Linked DNA regions of Homo sapiens: all the other regions are linked to region 1. Evidence: promoter capture Hi-C in 16 types of primary human blood cells and fetal thymus (Javierre and others, 2016). All regions are on one chromosome and are shown on one strand. The core of a region is centred on a gene start or on the middle of the fragment in contact, and the rest is flanking DNA. Distances in the headings are between cores, read along the strand shown.

Evidence for each region. The method cuts DNA at HindIII sites, captures the fragments that hold promoters and counts their contacts. A CHiCAGO score of 5 or more calls a contact.
Region 2: a contact is called between a fragment that was not itself captured here and the fragment with the promoter of CRIM1 in region 1, in 1 of 17 cell types (M2 macrophages). The highest score is 5.9, in M2 macrophages.
Region 3: a contact is called between a fragment that was not itself captured here and the fragment with the promoter of CRIM1 in region 1, in 1 of 17 cell types (total CD4 T cells). The highest score is 5.7, in total CD4 T cells.

What each region holds. Positions count from the first base shown.
Region 1 is chr2:36,353,478-36,357,027 of GRCh38, reverse strand. It overlaps CRIM1 (cysteine rich transmembrane BMP regulator 1), which reads right to left and starts at 1,250. Exons shown (of 17, transcript NM_016441.3): 1 at 405-1,250. The coding sequence starts at 735. CRIM1-DT (CRIM1 divergent transcript) reads left to right here and starts at 1,458. Exons shown (of 2, transcript NR_037631.1): 1 at 1,458-1,940; 2 at 2,047-2,279. The HindIII fragment of the contact is 11,087 bases long and covers 1-3,550 here.
Region 2 is chr2:33,594,961-33,598,510 of GRCh38, reverse strand. It overlaps FAM98A (family with sequence similarity 98 member A), which reads left to right. Exons shown (of 8, transcript NM_015475.5): 2 at 2,874-3,022. Among named protein-coding and RNA genes, the nearest start is that of FAM98A, 2.6 kb to the left of the region's middle. The HindIII fragment of the contact is 1,828 bases long and covers 762-2,589 here.
Region 3 is chr2:34,086,414-34,089,963 of GRCh38, reverse strand. The region is part of intron 4 of LINC01317 (long intergenic non-protein coding RNA 1317); the gene reads right to left. Among named protein-coding and RNA genes, the nearest start is that of LINC01318, 21 kb to the right of the region's middle. The HindIII fragment of the contact is 5,945 bases long and covers 1-3,550 here.

The DNA of each region.
Region 1 (3,550 bases), core at 1-2,500:
GTGCGGGGAGGGCGGTAGGGCCGGGCTCCCCGAGGGGCTCGCGCGCGGCAGAATCTGCAGTGCCCCCCGCCCGCGGCGCCCCCACCTCGGGGAGCAAGGCCGGGCCACCCAGTCCCAGCAGGAACGGCCACACGTGTGCGCGTCTGCGCGGGGACAGGGGCGATCCTCCACTCGCTCGCCCCCACCCACCATACCCAACCTCGCCCGCGACTGCCTAAGCGTCGGGGGGAACAAGGAGAGGGAACGCAGGGCCGCGGGGGCACTCTCCTGGGGGCGGCGGCCGCCCCTCTTCCCGCAGAGCCCTCTTTCCTCCAGAAAGTCTCGCCCAAACTTTGTTCGGCACAACCAGCGCCGAGGGGGCGGCGCAGGCCAGGTGGGAGGGGGCCCGCAGCGGGCGGCCGTACCTTCGCAAACGCCCGCTTCGTACTCGGTGAGGGAGTCGCCATTGAGCGGGGGGCGGATGACACAACGCAGCCCCCGGTCGCAGGTTCCGTAAATCCCGAAGGTGCCGCCGCAGCTCTCGTTCCTCTGGCTGGCGCACGTGTAGCAGCAGCCGCAGACGCCCTGCACGATGCTCCCCGGGCAGTTCCTGGGCTCCTCGCACTTGGACTCGTCACAGGGCAGGCAGACCAGCGCCCGGGTGCCGGAGCGCGCCAGCAGCAGCAGCAGCCCCAGCAGCGAGACCAGGAGGTGCCCGCAGCCGGCCAACCCCCTGTCCCCCGCCACCAAGTACATCCTCCTGCGCCGCCGCCGCCTCCTCCTCGCAGCCGGGCCGGGAGCGGGGCGGGCGCCCTCCCCTGCGCGGGGCACACGCGCCGCCGCCGCCGCACCAGCAGCCCGCGGTCCTCACCGCCCCTCTCGGGGCCCCCGGGGCGCGCCTCCCCTCGCGGGGCGAGGCCCCCGCCCCTTCTGCGGGCCGCGCCGACCCCGAGCCCACGAGCCTTGGCGCCGGCGGCAGCTTCCCCTCCTCCTCCTCCTCCTCCTCCCGGGAGGGAGGGGGAAAAAAGAAAAAAGTTTCCTCCCGGCAGCTCCGGTTCAACCCAAACTTCTGGCGCGGCGGCGGCGGTGGCTGCTGCGCTCGGCTCCAGCCCGGGCCGGCGGCGCCTCCTCCCTCTCCTCCTCCGAGTCGGCCGGCCCCGCAGCGGCGCAGCCTCCGGGCCGGTCCCCGCCTCCCGAGCTGCCGAGTGGGCGCGGTGGCGCAGCACAAGATCCGCGGCGTCCGCTCCGCGCGCCCCGCTCGCCTCACTCCTGCGCCGCTCCTCCGGGCGCTTGTTTATGGCTGGAGCCTCAGCCGCTCGGGCTGCGCCCTCCCCCATCCTACCTCCTCCCCCAGACCTTCCCCCCACCCCCACGCGCCGCGCGCCGCTCATTGGCTGCCCCCCCTCCCCGGCCCGGCCGGCCCCCTCCGCCTCCCCCTCCCCCTCTCGGGCGGCCGGGCCCTTCCTCCCTCCCTCACACGCCTCCACCTCTTCCCGATCTCCTCCTCCCCGAGCCCGGCGCACCGAGCCGGCCGTGCCACCGAGCTGCGGCTCTGGCCCCGGCGCCGCGGGTGCGCTGCGGATGGGCTTGGGGCGCACCCAGCGAGCAGCGAGAGTCGCGGTGTCCCGGGCGCTCGCTGGCACCGTGGCCGCAGCGGCCGGCCTGGGAGCCAGGAGGGCGAGGCGGCTGCACCTTCGGGGCCAGATTGGAGTTCGAAGAGTGGCGGGTACCCCAGAAGCTCGGGGCCGGGGCGATGGCTGCAGCCTCGGGAGGGTATCGCCGGATCGAACTCCGGGAAAGGGAAGCAAAGGCATGGAACCTCCGCACACTGGATGAGAATCCATCTTCCATTCGAGCTGGGAATAGACTTTGTGAAAGATATTATGTAATGGAGTCTCGGGAACCCTGAGACCTCTCCAGCGAAGCTGAAGTGAATTAATTAAGTGCTTTAAACGGTCTTGGTAAATATTCCGCGGGAGCTGGGGAGGACCGTTGGGATGGCTGTAGCTTGAGTTGAATTTTAACTGTCCTCATTCTGGGTTTTGTCGCTCTGCTTTCTGTGCCAAGGTGCTGTGTTACGGGAGAGAGTGACTGGAAAGTAACAAAGCTGAATCTTTCTCCCTGGAGTAAGGCCGAAGACTGGATTACTACACGCCTAGACGTGACACTACACCCATAGATCTCATGCATCATTAATGCCATATGACATTGCCATTTTCTTTCTCAGTTCACGGACAAAAGTGGTGGGTTTTCATTGTCTTCACTGATTGTCAATGCATTAATAAAGAAGATGTGTGGTACATAGTCTTTGTGATAAATCAGGTAAAGAAGCAACGGAAGTGATGCAAAATGCACGGTGTGGAGATGGTTTCTCTTCAGTGGTTGTCAGAAAAGGTTTTCGTAATGATGGCTCTGTCATTGATGGGATATGAAGTAGTAATCCGCTCCGTAGTGACCTACCATTCACAAGATGGGTACCAGGTGAATAACATTAATTAATTGACAAAAAGTGACTGTGGTCAATGGGGGAAAAAATCGATCCCGTGGCAGGTGTGACGTGGGAATGGCTGGCCCACCCTCTGATCCAAGATGGTCTGGCTGCAGGAAGGTGGCAGCCAAGTGGATTCTGAAAATCGTGACTAATGAACCGAAAGTTAATAGCTGGCAGTGCAAGGAAAGAGGAAACAAAGCTACCTTTGAAATGTTATGTTTGTGGAACAAATTCATACTTACGATAAATATTTTAGTTTAACCACTCTGTCTAATCCTGAACCCAAAAGCCAGAGTTACCAGTGGACTATTCCCCCATGATGGGCATCAGCAAACTAAACATTTCTCCTATCATATTTCTTTGTCCAAGGAGAGGAAGAGGCTCATTAATTATCATTGATTATTATAGGGCCATGAGGAAGATGTTCAACCGTGGAAAAGGGGAGAGAGCATTGCATTTTCTAGACGGGTTTAAAGAGTTGTTGCAATGAAATGATTCCTGTAGTTGGGTGGGAAGTCCGATTAGATGATCTCCAAAGGCCCTCATACCCTGTGGGTCCATAATAAGTGTTAAGTGGCAAAATCGTTTAAAATATGCTAGGTTTTCTATTAGAAAAACCGAAGAGACTGGGCGTGGTGGCTCATGCCTATAATCCCAGCACTTTGGGAGGCCAAGGTGGGCAGATCACTTGAGGTAAGGAATTCGAGACCAGCCTGGCCAACATGGTGAAACATGGTGAAACCCTGTCTCTATCAAAAATACAAAAATTAGCCGGGTGTGGTAGCGCATGCCTGTAATCCCAGCTACTCAGGAGGCTGAGGCAGGAGAATCACTTGAACCCAGGAGGTGAAGGTTGCAGTGAGCCGAGATTGCGTCATTGCACTCCAGCCTGGGCGACAGAGCAAGACTCTGTCTCAAAAACAAACAAACAAAAAAACTGAAGAAAAATAAAACACACATTGTTAAACATTGTTCTTTCTTGTCACCGAACAAGGCACCAGCACTTCAGTGTGGGATTTGCCAACAAACTGTCATCATTGCTCTGTGTTAAAAGGTCCCTCCCACTCTTGCAGAGGAGGT
Region 2 (3,550 bases), core at 426-2,925, 2.8 Mb after region 1:
CGTATTTGTTTTGCATTGTGTCTCTCCTTCTCCTGATATTTATTCAACCATAATTCATCAGTATCTAGAAGCTGGAAATAGGGTTTGTTATCTCACTGGGTCACCCAGATCAGTGTACTCTATTAAACTTGAGAACGTGGACCCTCTTGGGCTAAATGTGGTTCCAGAAACAAATTGTATGGTTAGATACTTACCTACAGGTACGGTATCAAAACAAAGTACAGATTTAGCTAGCTGTATTTCTAAGTAACAAGTTCTTTATCAAAATTTTCTCTTAGGTTTTTCCATGACAAGGAAACCTTTGAGAGAAACCTTTCTTTAGGAAAAAACACCTTGAGGATTCCCAAAGTCTGCCTATTTGAATAATTTACTACCCTAGTAGAAATTTTTAGGAACGAAGTAGTCTTGCTTATCATCTGTCTTTGTCACAGTGAAATACTATTGTTCTTTTCTTGGAAACTTGCTCTGAATTTTTATAAATATTCCAGACTTTAGGGGGCTTCTTTCTTTCATTAGGGCATATGTTAAAGTCATTCAGCAAAATAGTCTCTTTAGTTGACATCTCAGACTGAATCGCTTGTTCACACATGAAACCATTCATTCATTAGGACTTTTTTAGGAACAGTTTCTTTGTGGCAGTGTTAGGCCCTTAGAGTACAAGGTGAGGTGGAAGAGGGGTTCACAGGATACTGGGAAAATATGCTGTGAGGAGCCCTGAGGAGGGTCCCTTTACTGGGAAAGGAAATGAAATCCTAGAAGCTTCTTTCTGGAATAAATGACACTATAGTACTGTAGTGGAATGAGTGGAATGAAAGGAAGGGGGTAGACCTTATTAAATGTAGTCTTTCTGCATGGATAGTGGTCACTTAAGAATTGGCCACGGATGCTGTTTCTTCCCATTATTGTCTTTTTTTTTCCCCCTCCTTTTTTTAACTTTTTATTCTTTTGGGTACTGTACAAGTAATTGTTACTGTAGTAATTGTAATCACATAACTACTTGACATAGAGTGTAATGTAAACCATGGATTTTCTGAAAACTGTTATAAATTTTAACCTTAACTACTTAGTTTGGTGGCATTCAAATATTAAAAGTCAGCCTTAATTAACTGAAATGTACTTTTAAAGGATTAACTGAGAAATATTAGAATTAAATGACTACCTTTTCTATTTATTTATTTATTAAGAGATGAGGTCTTGCTCTGGTGACCAGGCTGGTCTCGAACTCCTAGCCTCAAGCGATCCTCCCACTTCAGGCTCCGGAGTAGCTGGGACTACAGGTGTATGCCACTGATCCTGGCAAATAGTCATCTTTTATCTCTTACCTGGCACACAGTAGGAATTCAGTAACTACTTGTTGAATAAACTAATGAAGTCTAAATGTGAAACTCAAGGAGAAACTTCTAGGCCTAGTCTTTTGATTTCAGTGTCTAATAATACATAGTTTATAAATCTAGATGCCAGACTACATGTGATCTCATTTTTTTATGTATGATTTGTTTTCATTTTGTTGCATATACTGTATAAACCTATAATCATATTTTAAAGGGTTTGAGAACTGTCATTTCTCTAACATACCTGTAGTTCTCAACATTATATTATCTTTTTTTTTTTTTTTTTTTGATACGGAGTCTTGCTCTGTCGCCCAGGCTGGAGTGCAGTAGTGCGATCTCGGCTAACTGCAAGCTCTGCCTCCTGGATTCAAGCCATTCTCCTGCCTCAGCCTCCTGAGTAGCTGAGACTACAGGCGCCCTCCACCATGCCTGGTTAATTTTTTTGTATTTTTATTAGAGATGGGGTTTCATCGTGTTAGCCAGGATCGTCTTGGTCTCCTGACCTCGTGATCCACCTGCCTCGGCCTCCCAAAGTGCTGGGATTACAGGCGTGAGCCACCACGCCTGGCCTAAACATTATATTATCTTAAGCATATTTATTGTATCATCTTAAGTAAGCATTATTATCAATATTTAAGAGAATGTAAAGCAATCTGAATAATATGTATTTAAGATTACTTGGAGTGACAGAAATCTTATATTTTAGAATATTGGTGATTGGAGTTCATTATGACTGTCATCTTTTATGAATGTTTGAACATTTTTAAATTTTTTAAAATTATATTGGAATCACTTACAAAGGATTAGGATTCAGATGCGCCAGTTCATTAACTGCCAATATTTATTAACCTAACCTGACGTTTCTTTGGTACTAGAATGTCTTACTAGTCTTAACTGGCATTAAATTTATAAAAATGATATAAATGGTTAACTGGAAAGTTTTTACTTTTAAAGGAAGTCATTAAAAACCTAACTAAGCCTGGGCAACATAGTAAGACCCCTGGCTATTTTATAAAAAATAAAAAAAAAGCCAGGTTTGGTGGCTTGTGCCTTCACTGCACTTCAGCCTATGTGACAGTGCAAGACCTCATCTCAAAATAAAAACATAATCTAGTTGTTTTCTGGAAAATTTTTAGAAAAGATAACCTAAGTTTTATTTCTGAAATAAGTTACAGTATAATTAGCTATTACTTGTTAATTTGCTTTTAATACTCAATTCAATTACAGTAAGAAAATAAATCTTTTTACAATGGAAGCTTTTAGTAAATGTACAGAAGTTGACATAATTTAGTAGTATATGCAATTCTGTTAGATATTCACCTACATTTTGAAAGGTTGAAATGCAGCTACCATTTAGCTGCTTTTTGTAATGGTTCAGTATAGTTCTAAATTATGTTTATATTTGTCCATTTAAAATAAAGATAAGTACTAACTTATCTTTATTAAATTATTGCTTATATAAATAAGACATAGATATGTTTTATCTGTAATATATTAGGTATGATTGTATTTTCTTCTGAAATGTAATTTCTTGCTCACCAGTTACAAGGGCCCATTGTTGGAAGATGGAGCGCTCTCTCAGGCAGTCTCTGCTGGAGCCAGTTCCCCCGAGTTTACCAAACTCTGTGCTTGGCTGGTGTCTGAATTAAGAGTGCTCTGTAAACTAGAGGAAAACGTGCAAGCAACTAACAGTAAGTAAACATTCACTTTTAGGTACAAAGTATAAAAATAACATTGAGGTATTGTCAACTGAACATTATCAATACTAAAGCTGAAAGTTGCAAGTTTTTGTAAATGTAAAAAATTTGTAAAGAAGCCAAGATTTTTTTTCCGTCCGTTGTTTTTAGAGGTGATTCAGAAGTTGAAATACCAGAATAAAGTCATGTAACTTAAAAATTCGTGGATGCTGAAAAGACCCTATTACTGGGATACAGAGAAATGGAGACCACAAGCATAGAATGTATGAACTTCCTATATTTTGTAAGATGTTAAATGTAAGATCCTAGATTGATGGCTAGAACTAGATACTGGGATATTTTTCTTTTAGGATTACCAGATTCTAGAAGCATCTATAGCATGTAGAGTAAATGCATTATTATTCTGTTATGCTTGGGGAGAAAGAGAACACTTTGTTAAGACATTTTGTTTATCATAAGAATGCATCGTTAGATACATCACAGTGAGATCCAGGACAATCAAATTTATGGATCTGAGAGCTG
Region 3 (3,550 bases), core at 776-3,275, 2.3 Mb after region 1:
TTTTGTTAGTGGCATTTAGAACTTTACATAGAATAAAGTAACTTCGATTCTATTACGGTTAGAGAATATGCTGTTTTATTTCAATACTTCTAAATTGACTGAGACTTGTTTTATGGCCAAAATGTCTCCTATCTTAATGAGCATTACACGTATAGTTCAGAAAATTAAAAACAAAGTATTCTGTTATTTGAGGACAGAAAAATCAATAAATGTGAATTGATTTAACTCATTTGATAGTGTCGTTTAAACCTACTATATCTTCACTAATTTTCTGTTTACATGCTTTATCAATTACTGAGAAAGGAGTTTTGAAATCTCCAACTGTAATTCTGAAATTGCCTAATTCTCCTTTCAGTTCTATCAGTTTTTCCTTCATGCATTTTTATAGGTTATTGTGTACATAATATTGTATTCTTATGTATTGTTGATTAATTTTTTATATAACTTTATTATGATTAGTGTTGGTATGGAATATCTTTCCCTATCATTTCTTTTGTATCCCGTCTGTATTTTTATATTACAGGTGGTTTTCGACCAGGCGCAGTGGCTCACGCCTGTAATCCCAAAACTTTGGGAGGCCAAGGCAGGCAGATCACTTGAGGCCAGGAGTTTGAGACCAGCCTGGCTAACATGGTGAAACCCCATCTGTACTAATAATACAAAAAAATTAGCTGGGTGTGGTGGGGTGCACCTATAATCCCAGCTACTCAGGAGGTCAAAGGCACAAGAATTGTTTGAACCCAGGAGGCAGAGGTTGCAGACCACGCCACTGCATTCCAGCCTGGGTGACGGAGGGAAACTATGTCTCTAAATAAATAAATAAAAAGTGGTTTTCTTGTAGACAGTATACAATTAAATCTTGATATTTATACACTCTAATAACCTCTGCTTTTATTTAAAATATTTAGTACATAAACATTTACTAAAACTATTTAACATACAGTCAGACCAGTCAATATTTGCTTTTTTTTAACTATCATCAACTGAGAAATGCAGACTTATCTGAAAAAATAATTTTTATCCAGTTTCAAAATTGAAACTTTTCCAAGAAGTATGATTAATTGTGAATGGCGCAAAATACTAAGGGCATAAGCAAGAAATGAATAAGGAAGGAAGGAAGAGATGAACAGGCCTTGAGGTAATGGAAACATGTACAATGGACTATGGAACCTGATTATATGAAAACAGTACTGGAGCCCAATGCCTGGAAAGAATAAACAGCAAAGTTAAAAATAATAGTACAAGGTTCTGGAAAGAGTGTAGCTAAGAGGAAAGAAAATTTTAGACCGGGCATGTTGGCTCACGCCTGTAATCCTAGCACTTTGGGAGGCCGAGGTGGGCGGTTCACGAGGTCAGATCAAGACCATCCTGGCTAACACGGTGAAACCCCATCTCTACTAAAAATACAAAAAAATTAGCTGGGCGTGGTGGCAGGCACCTGTAGTACCAGCTACTCCGGAGGCTGAGGCAGGAGAATGGCATGAACCCAGGAGGCAGAGCTTGCAGTGAGCCGAGATTGTGCCACTGCACTCCAGCTTGGGTGACAGAGCGAGACTCCGTCTCAAAGAAAAAAAAGAGTAAAGAAAATTTTAGATTAACATCTAATTTCTCACTGGAAGATCAAGTAAATGCTAAGAATATAATTTTTACCATGTTGTAAATATTGAAAATTTAAAACTGATATATCACTTTAAAAATGTAATATATTTAATATACTTACTATGGCAATTTAATATGTGCCATGCATTATAAAAATACGTGAATAAGTTCCTCTTTAAATGATTAATATTTCACATGACTCGTTTTTAACCTTAATTTGTATTTCCATTTCACTTCTCCCACAGAATTTTATCTGAGTGACATGTTTCTATGTTTGAAAGTCTTTGATTTAACATCCTATTTACATTTCTGCAACAAGAATATGTATATAAATTAATTTTTGTAAATTTATGCTATTTTTTTCCTGGATTTAGTATTCATGCAATTGTTAGTAGTAGCCAATTGATAAAAACATTTGGCAGGTCAGTCTCCTCCCAGTTCACTACTTTCAAAAATAAGTTGGTAATTTAAAATTATTTATTTTAAATTATAGATGATGTGATTCAGATATATAATGCTGAAGTTCATGTAATTGGACAAAATTAATATAACCATCCTTCTGCTATTCCCATCTGCTTGTTAATATAAATACATGTCCTTAGTCTTTAAACTATGAAAAACAAACAAATTATTAATTTAGGAATAAATCTGATACTAAACCTTCTCCCATTCTACTAATAAACAATGCTTGCCCATGTAAACAACACTTTTTAAAAATGTATATTCATCTCATTAAGAGATGCATTGTTAATAAAATGTTACATTTAATAATTATCAAATTTTGTGAGACAACATATTATAAAGACTAAAAGAGTTTCTCTAAAGACTCCACCAACAAACTTGTTAGGACTTACAAACAAATTTAGTAAAGTTGCAGCATACAAAGTCAAGATACAAAAATCAGTAGCATTTCTATGCAAGTCAAAATCACAGTGAAATACCATCTCATAAAAGTCAGAATGGCTACTATTAAAAAGTTAAAAAATAACAAGTGCTGATGAGGTTGTGGAGAAAAAGCGATGCTTATACACTGCTGGTGGGAGTGTAAATTAGTTCAATCATTATGGAAAACGGTGACAACTCTTCAAAGACCTCAAATCAGAATTACCATTAGACCCTGCAATTCCTCCCAAAATTCCAATGTGGGGTATATACCCAAAGGAATGTAAATTGTTCTATTATAAACACACATGCGTGTTTATGTTCATTGCGGCCCTATTCACAATAGCAAAGACGTGGAATCAACTTAAATGCCCATCAATCGTAGACTGGATAAAGAAAATGTGGTACATATACACCATAGGATACTTCTCAGCCATAAAAAAGAACAAAATCATGTCCTTTGCAAGAACATGGATGGAGCTGGAATCCATTATCCTTAGCAAATTAATGCAGGAACAGAGAACCAAATACCATGTGTTCTTACTTATAAGTGGGAGCTAAATGATGAGAAGACATGGACACAAAGAGGGGATCAATGGACACTTGAGGCTGTTGGAAGGTGGAGGTTGGGAGGAAGGACAGGTTCAGAAAACACACCTAATGGGTATTAGGCTTAATAATTGGGTGATGAAATAATATGTACAACAAACCCCCATGATACAAGTTTACCTATATATCCAGCCTGCACATGTTCCCCCGAACTTAAAAGTTAAAAAAAAACAAAATAGCATAACATATATTCCTTGTTAAAAATGGAAAGAATACATTTCTACATAAATCTGAACATGAAATTAGCCTGTGTCCAATTTCCCATTTTGTGCATAGTCAATCAATTACATCTATGCAAAATACTTGTCATTTTTTAAGGCTTAGAAAATTGCACCTTAACAGTTCGTCCATTTTTTTTTTTTTTTTTTTTTTTGAGACAGAATCTCGCTCTGTCGCCCAGGCTGGAGTGCAGTGGTGCCATCTCGGCTCACTGCAAGCTCTGCCTCCCGGGTTCACACCA